Linked DNA regions of Homo sapiens: region 1 is linked to region 2. Evidence: promoter capture Hi-C in human tissues and cell types (Jung and others, 2019). All regions are on one chromosome and are shown on one strand. The core of a region is centred on a gene start or on the middle of the fragment in contact, and the rest is flanking DNA. Distances in the headings are between cores, read along the strand shown. Region 1 overlaps STIM2 (stromal interaction molecule 2). Region 2 holds the start of SEL1L3 (SEL1L family member 3).

Region 1 (4,062 bases), core at 733-3,232, 1.1 Mb after region 2:
ACAGTCAGGTGCAGGTCTGTTGGAGTTTGCTGCAGTTCCATTCCAGACCCTGTTTGCCTGGGTATCACCAGTGGAGGCTGCAGAACAGCAAATATTGCAGAACAGCAAATATTGCTGCCTGATCCTTTCTCTGGAAGCTTCGTCCCACAGGAGCAGCCGCGTATATGAGGTGTCTGTTGGCCCCTACTGGGTGATGTCTCCCAGTTAGGCTACACAGGGATCAGGGACCCACTTGAGGCAGTCTGTCCATTCTCAGAGCTCAGACGCTGTGCTGGGAGAACCACTGCTCTCTGCAGAGCTGTCAGACAGGGACATTTAAGTCTGCAGAAGTTGTCTGCTGCCTTTTGTTCAGCTATGCCCTGCCCACAGAGGTGGAGTCTAGAGGCAGTAGGCCTTGTTGAGCTGTGGTGGCTCCGCCCAGTTCCAGCTACCAGGCTGCTTTGTTTACCTATTCAAGCCTCAGCAATGGCACACACCCCTCCCCAAGCCAGGCTGCCACCTTACAGTTCAATCTCAGACTGCTGCGCTAGCAGTGAGCAAGGCTTCGTGGGTGTGGGACCGCCGAACCAGGCACAGGAGAGAATCTCCTTGTCTGCTGGTTGCTAAGACCTTGGGGAAAGCGCAGTATTTGGGCGGGAGTGTTCCGATTTTCCAGGTAGTCTGTCATGGCTTCCCTTGGCTAGGAAAGGGAAATCCCCCGACCCCTTGCACTTCTCGGGTGATGCGATGCCCTGCCCTGCTTCAGCTCGCCCTCCGTTGGCTGCACACGTTGCCCAGCCAGTCCCAATGAGATGAACCAGGTACCTATTGGAAATGCAGAAATCACCTGTCTTCTGCATGGATCACGCTGGGAGCTGCAGATCGGAGCTGTTCCTATTCGGCCATCTTGGGAGTCTTTTTTTTTTTTTTTTTTTTAGTGGCAAGAGATGGAGACTCAAATTACCTCAAGTAATGAGAAGTTGATTGTAAAGATGCTTCATCACCAATGATTTGATTGATTGCAAGTTACAAAAATCAGACTCACCTGCTTTCTTTATTTATATATAATCAAAACTTTATGCTGTAATCCCAGCAGTTTGGGAGGTCTAGGCAGGTGGATCACTTGAGGTCAGGAGTTTGAGACCAGCCTGGCCAACATGATGAAACCCTGTCCTACTAAAAATACAAAAATTAGCTGGGTGTGGTGCGCACCTGTAATTCCAGCTACTCGAGAGGCTGAGGCACGAGGATTGTTTCAACCTGGGATGCATAGGTTGCAGTGAGCCGAGATCATAACACTGCACTCCAGCCTGGGTGACAGAGTGGGACTCTGTCTCAAAAAAACAAAAAAAATTATTTTTCCTGTGAGACAGGACAGGCATTATTCTAGGCTTTGGGGATAGAGCATTGAACAAAATAGATATTCTTCCCTGATGGAGTTAACGCTCTTTTAGAGAGACAGTGAACAAGTTTGCATGTATGTATGTGTGTAGCTACATATACACTCACACAACTGCTGGTACAGGTTATTTATGTGAAAAAATAAAGCAGGGTAACAGTATAGTTAGTGAGCAGATGGAACAAGGGCTAGTTAGATAATGTGGTCAAGGAAGAAGTCCCCCAAGAAGAGGTTTTTGGTTATAGATCAGAGTGGCGCTAGAGGGTGAGTCAGGGGACAATCTGGGTGAAGTATATTCCAGGTTTAGGGACCAGCCACACCAAGGCTTACGGCTGACACAACCTTAAAGTGTTTAGGAAACTGTTGGAAGGCTCAAGTAGCTAGAAAGTAGTAAGGAATGGGAAGAGTGGTGGGAGACAAATTGATCAGGGAGACAGACAGGGACAGATCTCATAGGACCTGGTAGGGCCAATAAGGAATTTGAGATTTACTATATGGATAATGTAAGTATATTGCAAGTATAACTCCATTTAGGAGTTTTGAGCAAAGTAGTGATGTGACTTATCTTTCAAAATGATTATTGTAATTACTGTGTGAATATTAGACTCTTGAGGAGAAGGGGTCAGGAGTAGAAGTAGAAGACCTGTTGAGGCTTCGCGTGAACTGGTGAGAGGTGATGGTAATCTGGTGAGAAGGAAATGGCTGGAAAGTCTGATTTCATGATATATTTTGAGGAAATAGCTGGCAGGATTTGCTGTGGAATTGAATTCAGGTTACTAGTGGGGGACAGGGACAGGAATAAAAGTTCATTCTTAGGTTTTATGTGGCATTGAAATTTCTTGGGAATAGGAGTAATTAGGAAAAAACCCAGAAATCTGAAGTCTCATGGGGGAGGTTGTTAATAATGGGGGAAAACATTGAAAAATACTGGTTGAGATCATGGCGCAAAGAGGGAAGGACTGAGTGCTGTGAGGTCAAGAAGTAGAGGAGGACCCTGGAGAGAAGGTGGGGAAGAAATGGCCGGTGAGATAGGAGGAGAGCCAGGAGAATGTGGGGACCTAGACGCTTAGTGAAGAAAGCATTTTAAGAAAAAGCAATGTCACATGTTCCAGAAATCTGAATAAGATGACAACACAGACTTGACAATTGGATTGGCAAAGTCGAAGTTAAGGTTATTGATCTTAACAGAGACAGATTCACTGTAGGAGTAGAAGTAAAAGTCTTTGATTGGAATGGATTAAACAGGAAGTAAGGACAATAAATATTGTTGACTTTAAAAAGGAAGAGCCAAGAAATGGGACTCTGATACATGAAGGGAGATAATGTTGTGAATAATTTTTTTTAAATGATAGGAGATTTTAATCATATATACATATATACACATATATACATATATATTTAAATCATATATATATTTTCATATATATGAAAATATAAATCTATATATATGAATATATATTATATATATATGGAATGACCCAGTTAAGAAATAATTGATACAGGAGAAGATCAAACTATCTTAATTTAAAAACTATCCCTATTTAATAGGAGAGTGCTGGTGTATAGTCAGGGGCTTAATCCACCCTGGCCCAGGTCCTGTCTTTCTCTGTTTCTTTCTGGATTTTGGTGTTATTTTCTCCTCCTGTGTTTCCTAGAGGCTAGTTCTGTGGCTGGTGGCAGTTGCAGGCTTATGTTTTCCTAGGATCATGGCCAAAGAGAACTAGGAGTCTTGCCTGCCTGTTCTAGTTAGAGAAATGCCAGAAAGTAACTGGCTTAGGTCTTGTGGCCAAATCTAGATCTGCTGCTGTGACCTCCAGAATGGGGTCCTGTGATTACTTCTTTCCCCATCTGCCTACTCCGGGTGATTTGGAGTCTTGTCTCCAAAGAAGGAAGAGAGAGAAGGAGTAACCTAGCAGCCAGCCAGCCATTACAGATTAATGACCAAGAATCACTAGACTTTGAGAAGAGCAGGTAGAAGAAAACCTTGAAAGGATGCAGGGTTGGGTGGGTGGTGTCTGGCAGCATGGGTCATGTGATATAAAATATAGCTACTCTTTCAGAACATCTCTAAGTTCCTGAAACTTGCAGTTCAAAACTTTTGGACCATAAATGGATTTTCTGAAAGGCCTCTTTTGGTCCCACTCTGAATTTTACGGTAATTGAGTGTATCACTTCCTAAATAGAGACATTTTATTAAATCCCATTTTGGTATTTTAATGAAATGAGCTAATGTAACTCTCACCACTGAAAACTTCCAAAATCTTCCTGGCTATTACAGATTTTTACTATTGCCTGGTACTTTTTACTTTGAAACCCTAGGTGAGTTTACCTAGAATCTCCAAACATGTCTGTATTGTTAAAGATGAAACATAGGTATTTTTAAAAGCATCAATGGAGGAGGAGAAAAGTGAATTTGAGGCAGCAAAAAGTAGGCGCTGTCTGTGCTGAGTTAGTTTGAAAATCTTGAGAAAGAGATGCTTTCTGAATACTGGTAAATTTGAGTAGATGGTTCTTCATGAGCTAACCACTCTCAAAAGAGAAATAGTAATTGTCACACTTCAGTAATATCTAAGAATACCAACTACTGTTACACTTTGTACTGAAGCTTAAGAACGTGGAAGGTTTTTGCAGTGCCATGTCTTCATACTGTACTAGAGCTCTTGTCGTTTGGGTTACTGGTGAAT
Region 2 (3,905 bases), core at 321-2,820:
ATAATTTGCATTTTTACACCTTCTTGCTTCAAGAAATGAAACATTCAAGAAGTAAAAAACGTTAAAAGAAACGGGCTGAGTGGCAAATTTCTTCAGAATCAAATTCTAATTTCTGCCAGTATCTCCTAAGCAGTTTTTAGCTTCCAAAAAGAAAGACTCCAAATAATGACAATGCCACATAAGTGAAATGAATTCTGGACAATGACACTGCTCTTTTTTTTTTTTTTTTTGGCATTCTGTGAATTTCCTATTACATCAGTTTCATGATTCAGCATTTTCCATTTCATTTATTTACAGTAATATATGGCGAGATAACCCAAGGTTTCTGCAGGATTGTGGAACATAAGTTACTCTGGGCAGGAAGGGTGTCGCCTTCTGTAAATTTACTATTGTTTAGGAGAACTCAAAACAGAAGCAAGCAAGCCCTCAAAGGAACTGAGAAAATTTCTCCCCACTTTGTTCTGAGGGGTCTCAGCTACTCTGGTATTTAAAATAAATGGGTTTTGAAAAATAGGTTACTGCCCTTTAGTTGATGACTAAAACAGAAGCCAAGAAGTGTGCAAATTGCAAACTGACATGCATGAGCCAAACATATTCTCTGAAATGACAATGTTCAAGACGCAGCTAAAGTCACCACTCTGGCGGTAAGCGTGTTACAGAGAACTAGATTTCTTTCCGGCATCCGCAACTTGGCTGGAGTGACCAAGGAGGAGTTGAAGAGCGCTGGAGATGCGAGGTGCGTTGGCAGAAAACTGTCCGGGCCGGGAGGACCCGGTGGAAACTAAAAGGAGGGTCGACGCGGGTGGCGGGCGCCGAGAGTAAGAGGCGAAGTTGGGCACGGGAAGGAAAGGAGCTGCGAGAAGATTGAGAGGGAAGCCCAGGAGGGGTGGGGGGTTGGGGGGTGCTGGAGACTGCGCGCGGCGGGGCGGGGAGCGAACTCCGGGCGGCGAGGCTCCCGGGTGGAGTCGAGGACAAGAAGGGGTCTCGAGGGTAACCCGACCCGGGTCTAGAGAGAGTCCAGGAGGGAAAGGAATGAGCACGAGCGAGAGAGCAGCTTGGCAAGTCCGGTCCAAGCGCCCCTCTCCACGCCCGGGGTACCTATCCCAGGTGCCGGGAACGCCCGGGGCGCAGCGACGAGGAAGAGAGAAAACTAGCAGCGGCGTCCCCGCCCCGCGTGGCGGGTGTCCCCGGCCGCCCCCACCCGCGTCCCCGGGGCCCCGCGCGGAGGGGAAGACCCGGGCAGGGTCCGGCGCTCACCAGGTAGCAGAGCAGGAGCAGCGCGCAGGCAGAGCGGCCGCCGAGGCCCTGGGGGACGCCGCCACTCGGGACCATGGCTGCGGCCCGGGGGCCGACCGCGAGCGGCGGGGGTTGCTGCTGCTGCTGCCGCGGCCACCCGAGCCCCGCGCCGCGCCGCTGCATGGCGAGGCCGCCCGGATCCGGGCCGGAACAGGTCACCTGGTGCAGGGACCGGCCCCCGCCCGAGGCGCCACCTTCCCGCCCGCCCCCGGCCGGGCCGGCCGCCGCGCGCGGGGCCACCTGCCGCCACCTCCGGACCCGCCGCCGCCGCCACTGCCGCTCCCGCCGTCGCCGCCCCCGCAGCCCCAGCCGAGCGCCGGCTCCTCCCCGCCTCCCCGTCCCCGTCCCCTCCCTCCCCTCTGCCTCCCTGCCCAGCCCTCCTCCCGGCCGCTCCCTCTGGCCCCCGGGCTTCCACCCCTCGGAGCAGCGGGCGCCCACGCAGGTGGGCACCGACCCGGGTCCCGCCCCTTGGCCGCCGCCACCCCCCGCCCGGGTCGCTGGGCCCCGGCGCACCCCCCTTTCCCTTTCTCTCTGCTCCTCCCCCGCCCCCCTTCCGCGCTCCTGCTCTCTGCGATCCCCCTCCTCTCCCTCCGGCTCCCTCTTCCTTCTCCCCTCGCGCTCCCAAACCCCCTCTCTTTTTCACTTTCTCCTTTTCCTCCCTTTCCTCTTTCTCCCTTCCCATCCTCTTCCTCGCTTCCGCATTCTTCCTCTCCCACCCACCCCTTTTGCGGGTCGCACAGACCAGTTCCCGCCCGTGCAATGGGTTTTTGTCTGGTTGCTTTTTTGGCCGGGGCGCCATTCCCGCAGGGCGCAGGGCGAGTGTGCCCCCTGGAGTTGTGCCGCGCAGCTGCCCGGCTCCCAGGCCTTCAGGATGGATTTTGACCCCTGCCAACCTCCACCTGTCCACCTGCGGGGTTGGGACTGCCTCCTTGCTGGCATGTTTGCAGCCGGGCTGCGCCCCACCCTGCCGGCTGGTTCGCGGCACGTTCTGGATGTTTCCCGAGGGTTTTGTGTGGTGCCGCCGCCACCGCCACCACTGCGCTCTTTGTTTTAATTGTCCAGAGTATTGGCACCCAGGACGGGTTTGTATTTGATTTGCATCCCTGTGCTCCGGCTTCCACTTTGGACTGAGAAAAAAATGAATTAATTAGGTCAATACAGTAATACTGGAGCCCCAAATGAAAGGGGTGAGGCCCTGGAAGTGCGCAAACAGCTTTTTAAAAAACCAGGACACATCCTCGGCCTTGGGGACGCAGGTTGAGACTGGCTGCTCTCCGACCCGGGTTCTGCGGCCTGGCGGGGAGGGGCCTCCGGCCGGCGGGACCACCAGCTCGCCGCCGGCCTTGGCTTTCAGGGAAGCGCTTGGCTGTGTCTAGCGGCTCCGACAACTATCTGGGCCCGCAGCTGCTGCTCTGAAACAGTTAATCCACCTTCCAAAGTTCGCAGAAGCTTCCCTTTAGCACTGGTAGATTTGTGCGGATTGGAACTAATAATAGCCTGGGAGCCTGAGAGGCCACAGCCCTTTCCCTGTGCCACGAGCATAGGTCAAGTCACAACAGACGTCGGGGAGAGGCTGGTGGTGAGACGGGGTGCCCGGGATGGTTTGACGGGCGTGGACGCGCCCTCAGCTGCTTCAGTACAGGCCTGGCCACACCAGGCATGGTGGCTCCTCAGCTGTCGTCCACTTTTTTTTAGGTCACCTAAGAGCTGTGGCCTTGTGTGAGTTCCCTGGCCTTATTCCACCGGTTCTCAAACTTCAGAATTACCTGGAGGGATTGTTAAAACACAGATTCCTGGACTTCAGCCCTAGAATTTCTGACTCAGTTGGTCCTGGGAGGGACTTGAGAATGTACCTTTCTAACAAGCTCCTGGGTGATGTTAACGCGCTGGTTCAAACAGCCCTCCTCCATTTCCAGAACTATTGGCTTTTAGGGAACTGGGCTCCTGCTCCTCCCAGCCAGCTGCCACCACATTAAAGCATTTTGGGGGTTTTGACAGATGCTCCCACTATCTCTGTTCCACTTCTGCAGAAACAAAGCACTTAACATTCTTCTGTGTGACGTGGAAAACATTTATTCTATCGAGTGTCCAAGGGAACAAAAGATTTGGTGGCTTTGTCCCAGATCCTGTCTATATCTTTTCCATCAGGTCAAAATACAGACTATGCTTTTAATGTATATGGAAGGAAAATTGTCGGCCAGTTCAGGGGGAAGGGGCTTCAACAGGCATTGCAGCATTTCTAGGGTTGCCACCTGTCTTCCTGGGCCACGCTCCGGAGTTTCTCTCCTCCCACATTGTACACAGATTCTGTTGGTCTTCGGGGAGCTAAATGGTTCCTCGGGGTTGTTTGTAATCAGGATTCATGGAATTGGGAGTTTTCAAGGCCTTGTGAGCTTTGAGGATTTGGGTTTACCTAAGTGTAGGTAAGCAGAGTGCCCCACTGGAGGCTGGACTGTTTCTAACTTGCCATATCCAACTGCTCACTTCTCCCCTACTCACTCATCTCCTATTGTGTTCCTACTGTGGACTGGGCACCACCTGAGGCCCCAGGATTCCAGAGGTAGGCAGGAAGGCTCTGTTTCTGCAAGGAGCACCAGGCATGCAGAAAA

The links. Contacts are between HindIII fragments. The study calls those that stand out against the background at their distance.
Region 1: a contact is called between a fragment that was not itself captured here and the fragment with the promoter of SEL1L3 in region 2, in 1 of the 25 tissues and cell types used here (heart left ventricle).

Annotation. Positions count from the first base shown.
Region 1 is chr4:26,975,488-26,979,549 of GRCh38, forward strand. The region is part of intron 3 of STIM2 (stromal interaction molecule 2); the gene reads left to right. Among named protein-coding and RNA genes, the nearest start is that of STIM2, 120 kb to the left of the region's middle. The HindIII fragment of the contact is 5,400 bases long and covers 1-4,062 here.
Region 2 is chr4:25,861,418-25,865,322 of GRCh38, forward strand. It overlaps SEL1L3 (SEL1L family member 3), which reads right to left and starts at 1,571. Exons shown (of 24, transcript NM_015187.5): 1 at 1,258-1,571. The coding sequence starts at 1,419. It overlaps LOC102723733 (a long non-coding RNA gene), which reads left to right. Exons shown (of 2, transcript XR_427503.5): 1 at 1-736. LOC124900688 (a long non-coding RNA gene) reads right to left here. Exons shown (of 3, transcript XR_007058092.1): 3 at 3,791-3,905. RefSeq lists silencers at 570-864, 1,135-1,594, 1,645-1,804. The HindIII fragment of the contact is 7,102 bases long and covers 1-3,905 here.